3 separate regions of the Homo sapiens genome follow, and all the other regions are linked to region 2. Evidence: promoter capture Hi-C in 16 types of primary human blood cells and fetal thymus (Javierre and others, 2016). All regions are on one chromosome and are shown on one strand. The core of a region is centred on a gene start or on the middle of the fragment in contact, and the rest is flanking DNA. Distances in the headings are between cores, read along the strand shown. Region 1 overlaps INPP5A (inositol polyphosphate-5-phosphatase A). Region 2 holds the start of LRRC27 (leucine rich repeat containing 27). Region 3 overlaps INPP5A (inositol polyphosphate-5-phosphatase A).

Region 1 (2,700 bases), core at 117-2,616, 340 kb after region 2:
TGGCGGCATGCGGGGACATGAATCTTGGGCTCTTGGAAAAGGGGAAATAATGGGGTTTGGGAGGCATTTGCAGGTTATTCATTCGCCGCCATGCACCAATTCTCCAGTGATTCATCCGCCTCACCAACATTTATTTATCCAGCAAATTCCGGAGCTTTGACCTTTTTGCTAAGTACATTGAACATAAGTTGGAGTGGAGATCTTTCAAGTGTAACTTTTACAAGTATTTGTTATTTTTCCTTATTTCTAGGCAACATTAAACAAAGTTATTCAGTTTTTTGAGTGTACTGGAGTCTGCCGGCCTTGCAGGGTTGGTGTGGTGGTGAGGGACTAATGGGCTCCTGCAGCCCAGCCCCACACTTGACTTTTGAAAATTCCAGTGGCAGATCCCAGGCTCAGGTGTCACTGATCCTTTCTTAGGTGAAATGACACGAGAGCCTCACGTTCCTGCCATGGGCTGATGGCCTCGGCCTCCTTTCAGTTGAGGCTTTCTGTTGGTGGTTAGGGGGCAAAGTGACGCCCTGTAACTTATTGATGCTGCCATGGAAAAAATATGGAAATGAAGCAGAACATGAGTTTCTCAGAAGCACATTTGACGGACTTCTTTTGGCGAAAATCAGAGCACTTCAAATCCTGTAACCTCAAACTGTTTCACTTTTCAGAGGTTATATAATAAAAAGTTAAGTGATTGATTTTATAGTTCAGTAGGGAGTGATGAAATTCTTGATCACTATCCATAATGGCTTTATTTTAAACAGTGGGCTAGAGATTTAATTAAAGCATGATCAGGGAAATGAAAAAATGTTGATATTTCTCCTCAAATTAAACATGAATTTGCACAGGGAGCATTAGAAGGGCTTATCATTCCTCCTGATGTTTTTATTCTCTTCCGTAGGATTTAAAAGCTTGCGGCCCACTTCACCCCTCTCTGAATAGCTCAGGGGGCTTCAGCCCCTGTTGACCGTGCTCTGGGTTTGGTCCATTTCTGTGGCTTTCTTTAAAAACTGCCGAGCTCCATCGCACGACCACCACTGCTGGCGTTTATTGAGCGTGTACTGCTTGTGAGGCTTTGTTCTGGGGGATCATTTCCCCACTTTATCTTTGGGGTGCCGGAGACACAGGAAGGTTAAGAAACAGCCGGTGAGGCCGGGCATGGTGGCTCACTCCTGTAATCCCAGCATTTTGGGAGGCCGAGGTGGGTGGGTCACGAGGTCAGGAGATAGAGACCATTCTGCCAACATGGTGAAACCCCGTCTCTACTAAAAATACAAAAAATTAGCCAGGCGTGGTGGTGGGCGCCTGTAGTCCCAGCTACTCGGGAGGCTGAGGCAGGAGAATGGCGTGAACCCAGGAGGCGGAGCTTGCAGTGAGCAGACATCGTGCCACCGCACTCCAGCCTTGGAGACAGAGTGAGACTCCATCTCAAAATAAACAAACAAACAGCCGGTGAGTAGCACCAGCTTGTGTGAAGCTGGGAAGTAGCCCCGTGAGCGCCAGGTGTTGCCGGGCCAGGCCTTCCCTGTGAGGCGGGTTCCCTGGTGCCCACTGTGGCCTACTCTGAGGGGCACAATGCAGGCTCCTATTCTTAACCTCAAGGCTTTCTATGTAGCACGTCCTCACGGGACCACAGAACGAGAGGGAGCTGGGGGTGTGGTGGAGGAGTGGCAAGTGACAGGGCAGAAACAGCTGCTCGAGGAGGCCCCGTGTTCTCCTGGGGGACCGTCGGTGACATTTCAGCCTGGCTTAGCTGCGTCCTTGAAAGTGGTTCTGCTTCTCTTACGTGCTTGCAGACACCATTCATGTGTCCTTAGTCTGACAGTGACTTGGTCAAGCTTGGAGGATGTGGGGCCTGCCTGTGCGTGCCCCATGGGCAGAGAGGGCGGGCGCGGTTCGTGCTGGACTCTAGATGTGCAGCTCCAAGTGAGATGTGGGTAGATGCCATTGGGATTTTGGCGTGAGCGTGGACCTGGGTTTCTGGAAGGGCATTGTTCCCGTGTCCCTGTCCCCACTGTGGCCTTGCTGAGCCCCCAGGGAGCCAGGACCCGCTGGTGACTGCTCCCTCTCTGTCCTCAGGGTGCAGCCCTGCACAGCCCTTCTAGCCCTCTCAGGTCTTTCTTTTGTCCAAACTCTTATCTTCTCTTGGGTCCCCAGGGTCACCAACCTCTTTGCAGAAAATCCCTCTGCAGCCACTGACCCCACACCCCCAGCCCCCATGCCCTCACTGCACACGTTCTCAGCCCCCATGTCCTCAGCTTCCAATCCCTAAACCCCACGTCCTGAAACCCACACCCTCAGCCTCCACCCCCAAGACCCTACACCCTCTGACTGCGCACTCCCAGAACCTGCACCTGACCCCACACCCCCTGACCCCACCCCCCCGACCCCACACCCCCTGACCCTACACCCCCTGACCCCACACCCCCTGACCCCACACCCCTGACCCCACATCCTCTGCATACTCCCAGAACCCACACCTGACCCCACACCCCAGACCCTACATCCTCTGTGCACTCCCAGAACCTGCACCTGACCCCACCCCCCCGACCTCACACCCCCTGACCCTACATCCTCTGAGTGCGCACTCCCAGAACCCGCACCTGACCCCCACACCCCCTGACACCACCCCACAGCCCCCATCTTCAGCCTCTCCTCTGCTGTAGTCCCCAGCCCCTGGCTGGCTTGCTTCTCAGCACAGCCCTG
Region 2 (2,700 bases), core at 72-2,571:
TAGTCGTTTCTCCACATAATTATGTCGTTTCCTTTAAAAAGTGGAATCAGGCCGGGCACGGTGGCTCATGCCTGTAATCCCAGCACTTTGGGAGGCCGAGGGGGGCGGATCATGAGGTCAGGAGATCGAGACCAGCCTGGCCAACATGATGAAACCCCGTCTCTACTAAAAATACAAAAATTAGCTGGACGTGGTGGCGCGCGCCTGTAGTCCCAGCTACTGGGGAGGCTGAGGCAGGAGAATTGCTTGAACCTGGGAGGCGGAGGTCGCAGTGGGCCGAGATCGCGCTACTGCACTCCAGCCTGGGAGACAAAGCAAGACTCCACCTCAAAAAAAAAAAAAAAAAAAAAAAAGTGAAATCATGGCAGACTCCAGCTAAACTGTCCGGGTTTCCAGAGTGTTTCTGGGTGGGACAGAGGGTGCTACTTTTCATTATCAGTTGGATCCTGGAATGAAGGTGCACGGGACTCCAGGGTTCCACAGGACCACGCGAGCACCTCCCCTCCCGCCCGGTGTCATTTCATCTTCTTCCAAATTCTCAAAACCCTTCCTCAGGACACTCACTGCGTTTCCTCGCCCCCCTCACTCCTCCGTCCAGAGGCAGCCTTACTTCTCCAAAGAGGACGCTCTGAGTCTGCGTTCCCCTGGCAGCAAGTCCTGAGGCAAGATTTGGGGACAAGCAGCTCCTGTGGGAAGTGGCTCCAGGAAGCCCCAGGAGAGACGCGGGGAGTGAGCCCAGCGGGAAGGACAGGCAGCGAGGACCGCTCCAAAGGTGGTGCCTCAGCAGCAATTCTTTTCTGCTCGGCTGTCCTCGAGCAGCCCCGCCCGCCCCGGGCCCTCCGGCTCCCCAGACGGCACTTAGCATCCCGCTCTCTTCCTTCCCCTCTGTGCCAGGCCGGTCGCCCCTCCAGACCCTCGCGGTCTCTACTTGCCCGTCGACCACCACCCCTTCAAGGCCGCGGGCGCGGAAAAACGGATGCTACCGTTGGCCGCGTGCGTGCGCAGGCGCACCACCCCCTGCCACCCCCGCGCAGGCGCACCACAACCCCCCCACCGCAAGCGCAACCCCCCGCCCCAGCGCAGGCGCACCACACCCCGCCCCCTCCCGGGCAGGCGCACCACACCCGACCCCCTGCCGCGCAGGGGCACCCACACCCCGCCCCCGCACGCAGGCACAAACCCCCACAACACGCACACCCCCGCGCGCAGGCGCACCACACCCCTCGCGCAGGCGCATCACAGACACACTCGCGCTCAGCGTGGCGCCTGCGGGATTCCGTACCGGCGTCTCCATGGCGACCGCGTTGGCTGGGTGGCCTCCATTGTCGGGCTGCTGCTCTCAGCGGCGGGGCTCGCCAGCGCTTCAGTGGGCGGGGACGCGGCAGGTGAGACGGGGCGGGTACGGCCAGCTCGCTGAGCCCTCGAGGCGGGCGGCGGCAGGAAGGTGGTGCCTCGGCCCGTCGTGCCCTGTCGCCTAGCTCCAGCCGCGATGCTGACCGCAAAGGCTGCCCTTCTGAGGCCTGGAATGTGAGGCCCAGAGCGTCGGACCCAACTCAGCCTCGCCCGGATGGGGAAATCGAGGCAGGGAGCGGGGGTGGGCGTGCGTGGGGATCCCTTGAAGGCAGCCTCGGAAACCCCACGGAGCCTGCGCTGCCTGGGCCCTGTGTGAGTCCAGGCTGTTGTTTCACTTCTGGTTTTAAGATACTTTCCCTGTTCTGAGGTTTGAAGCCTCCCCTCCTCTGTTTTAAGTTCCGTGATTCGGAGAAAACAAGTGAACTGACCGTGAAAAAGCCCGCGGGCTTCCATGGAATGCAGGCTGCCTGGGGTTGAACCCTGCTGGGTCCCGGTGTCGCCTCTACCCCCCAATTAACTGCGCCCCTGGAACAGTTCCCTAACTGATCTGCGCCTCATATGCCAATCATTGGGCTGTTGAGTGACTTGAATTAGGTGAACTGATGCATTCCAACGTTGATTCTTATTGCCGAATAAATTGTTTGGAAATTGCAAGTGGAAGTGTGCCTCGCTGAATGAGATTTTGGTGAACAATACTTCTGAGTAAAAGTGTTGCTGGACAACGAAAATTCGAGATTAATTTAACAGGTTTTTCCCCGGTGCTTAACTGGGTGTAAGCCAGACTTAGTTCTGGTCACTGGGTCAAAATGGTAAACAAAAGACAGGCTTCCTGGCCTCAAGAAACTAAAAACATAGTTCAAATGGCACAGAACCACACCAGAGGTAAGAAACAGTGCAAATTTCCACCCGCCCCTAGTCATTTCATGGAAGCGTTGCAGTTGATTTACAGGCTTTGAAATGTTCCGATCTGTTTACATCCCTAAAATGATCATTACTATTGTGCGCCTTTGCGTTTTCCAGGAGTTAAATCTTGGAACTCCATTGTACAAAGTGAGAGCAGAGAATTTTAATCTGAACCTCTTTGTATTCCTTTTTTTTTTTTTTACATGTTTAAAAGTCAAATTTTTGCTACTGCTTAGGAAAAATGATAGCTTTTAAAGCAAGTTACATTACAGTAGATCTGCCACACAGCTATTCTGTTTTGCCTCGGTATAATTAGTTGCTTCTACGTTTCCCTTTCCCGTGTCTCCAGGTGACTCCAGACCAAGGAGGATGAGCTGCTGTCCCTGGAAGAGAACGGATGGAGGGAAGCAGCTCCTACGAAGTTCCCTCTGTGGCTGCTGCTGA
Region 3 (2,870 bases), core at 116-2,615, 290 kb after region 2:
TATTCACTTTAAATACCTATTTTAAAAATAGAGTTTTAAATTGAGATAATAAATGTTGTTTATTTATCAGGGAGAGACCCAGTAAGATGTAGAACTGGTTCAGGGAAGAATCCAGAATGTAGGCAAATAGCTTCTCCCATCAGCAGTACTGACATGAGTGTGCTTCACGGATGCAAGGCTGGCACTGTCCACAGGGTCATGATCCATCACATCTGCTGGACATTGTGCATTTCTGTGGTCAAGAATCATTTCCATCATCATCAGCTTTTAAACTCACAGAGTTGCAACATAGCTCAGAGACAACTAAAGGTAGAGATAACCCAAATAGGTGAGCTAAATGGAGGCACTCTCATTATTGCTCATTTTAAAGTCTTTCACAGTTTTTCCTGATGGTAATTTTAAGAATGATGTGATAGGCAGTGTCTGTTTCCAGCTAACATGGAAGAAGAGTGTATTAGGCCATTCTTGCTTTGCTGTAAAGAAATACCCGAGACTGGGTAATTTATGAGGGAAAGAGGTTTAATTCGCTCACGGTTCGCAGGATGTGCAGGAAGCTTAGTGCTGGCACCTGCTCAGCCCTTGGAGGCCTCATGGAATTTTCAGTCAGGCAGAAGGCAAAGGGGGAGTAGCCATGCCACACAGTGAAAGCCAGAGCAAGAGAGAGCGAGTGGGGATGAAGTGCACACACCTTCAAATGACCAGACCTCATGTGAACTCAAGAGTAAGAACTCACTTATCACCAAGGGGATGGCCCAGTCCATTCAGGAGGCATCTGCCCCCATGATCCAAACACCTCCCACCAGGTTCCTCCTCTAACACTGGGGACACATTTCAACATGAGATTTGGCCGGGGACAAATATACAAACTGTATCATTCTGCCCCAGCCCCTCCCAGATCTCATGTTCTTCTCACATTTCAAAATACAATCATCCCTTCTCAATAGTCCCCCCAAAGTCTTGACTCACCTCAGAAGTCCCATGTCTGATGACTTCTCTGAGACAAGGCATGTCCTTTCCACCTATGAACCTGCAAAATCAAAAACAAGTTATTTTCTCCCAAGATACAATGGGGATATAGGTATTGGGTAAACATTTCTGCTTCAAAAGGGAGAAATAAGCCAAAAGAAATGGGCTATAGCCCCCAGGCGAGTTTGAAACCCAGTAGGGCGGCTATTAAATCTTAAAGCTCCAAAATCATCTCCTCAGAGTCTATGTCCCACACTCAGGGCACACAGGCTCAAGGGGTGGGCTTCTATGGCCTTGACCAGCTCTGCCCCTGTGGCTTTGCAGGGTTCAGCCCCCAGGACTGCTCTCATGGGTTGGAGTTGAATGCCTGTGGCTTTTCCAGGCACAGGGTACAAGCTGCCAGTGGATATACCATTTTGGGATCTGGAGGATGGTGGCCCCCTGCTCACAGATCCACTATGCAGTGCACTGCTGGGGACTCTCTGTGGGAGCTTTAACCCCACATTTTCCCTTGACACTGCCCCTATAGAGGTTCTGTGAGGGCTGCACCCCTGCAGCAGGCTTTTGCCTGGGCACCTGGGTTTTCTTATACATCCTGTTACCCAGGCTGGAGTGCAATGGCATGATCTCAGCTCACTGCAACTTCAGTCTCCCAGGTTCAAATGATTCTCCTGCCTCAGCCTCCTGAGTAGCTGGGATTACAGTCATGTACCACCACACCTGGCTAATTTTTGTATTTTTAGTAGAGACAGGGTTTCACCATATTGGCCAGGCTTGTCTTGAACTCCTGACCTCAAGTGATTCACCCACCTCAGGTGCTGGGATTACAGGTGTGAGCCACTGCACTTTGCCAGCATTCTTCACTCTTGCATTCTGTGCACCTACAGGCTTAACACCTGCATTTTTCAAAATGGCAGCCTGGGCTGTGTCTGGGGCCCTTTGAGCTGAGGCTGGAGCTGGAACAACCTAGATGTGGGGAGCACTGACCTGAAGCTGCACAGGACAGCAGGGTCCTGGGCCTGACCCATGAAACCATTCTTTCCTCCTAGGCCTCAGGACCTGTGACAGGAGGAGCTGCTGCAAAGGTCTCTGAAATGCCTTCAAGGCCTTTTTGTCATTGTCTCGTCTGTTGGCACTCGACTCCTTTTTAGTTATGCAAATATCTCTAGCAAGTGGTTGCTTTACAGCCTTTTTGATTTTCTTTCCTGAGAAAGCTTTTTCTTTCTTTGCTATGTGGCCAGGCTGCAAAGTTTTCAAACTTTTGTGCTCTGCTTCCCTTTTAAATGTAAGTTCCAACTGTAAGTCATTTCTTTGCTCCCACATCTGAGTGTAGGCTGTTAGAAGCAGCCAGGCCACATCTTTCTTGAGCACTTTGCTGCTTAGAAATTTCTTCCATCAGATACCCTAAATCATCACTCTTTGCTTCAAATTTCCATTGATCTCTAGAGCATAAACAGAATGCAGCCAAGTTCTTTGCTAAAGCATATCATGGGTTATGGGAATATTAATATAATTTATGCCAATAAACTTGAAATTTTATATGAAAGAAACTTTTTTTTTTGAAAAACAAAAGTATCAAGAAGAAATAATGAACTCAATAGTCCTATATCTATTCAATTAAAAATTTGCCCATTACCTTTCCACAAAAACCCTCCCAGCCCAGATGGCTTCCCTGGTGAATTCTATATTTAAACAAGAAACAACAGAAATTCTACAGAGCCTTTAGAAGAAGACTGAGTCACAGATGATACTTTTTGAATTATTCTTTGATATGAACATTAGAAAAATTCAAACCAACATTCCCCATGAAAATAAAGGCAAAAATTATTTTCAATGTTGTAAATCAAGGGATGCAAGCCTGGTTTAACATTCAAGAATCAATCAACAGAATTTACCATGTCAAC

Evidence for each region. The method cuts DNA at HindIII sites, captures the fragments that hold promoters and counts their contacts. A CHiCAGO score of 5 or more calls a contact.
Region 1: a contact is called between a fragment that was not itself captured here and the fragment with the promoter of LRRC27 in region 2, in 1 of 17 cell types (M0 macrophages). The highest score is 6.5, in M0 macrophages.
Region 3: a fragment that was not itself captured here is called in contact with the fragment with the promoter of LRRC27 in region 2 in 1 of 17 cell types (total CD4 T cells); the score reaches 5.1 in total CD4 T cells.

What each region holds. Positions count from the first base shown.
Region 1 is chr10:132,667,829-132,670,528 of GRCh38, forward strand. All of the region lies in intron 4 of INPP5A (inositol polyphosphate-5-phosphatase A), which reads left to right. Among named protein-coding and RNA genes, the nearest start is that of NKX6-2, 120 kb to the right of the region's middle. The HindIII fragment of the contact is 927 bases long and covers 904-1,830 here.
Region 2 is chr10:132,330,872-132,333,571 of GRCh38, forward strand. It overlaps LRRC27 (leucine rich repeat containing 27), which reads left to right and starts at 1,322. Exons shown (of 11, transcript NM_030626.3): 1 at 1,322-1,385; 2 at 2,606-2,700. The coding sequence starts at 2,654. It also overlaps a transcript of STK32C not described here. RefSeq lists an enhancer at 605-1,139 and a silencer at 1,024-1,143. The HindIII fragment of the contact is 6,954 bases long and covers 1-2,700 here.
Region 3 is chr10:132,618,132-132,621,001 of GRCh38, forward strand. All of the region lies in intron 2 of INPP5A (inositol polyphosphate-5-phosphatase A), which reads left to right. Among named protein-coding and RNA genes, the nearest start is that of INPP5A, 82 kb to the left of the region's middle. The HindIII fragment of the contact is 1,626 bases long and covers 553-2,178 here.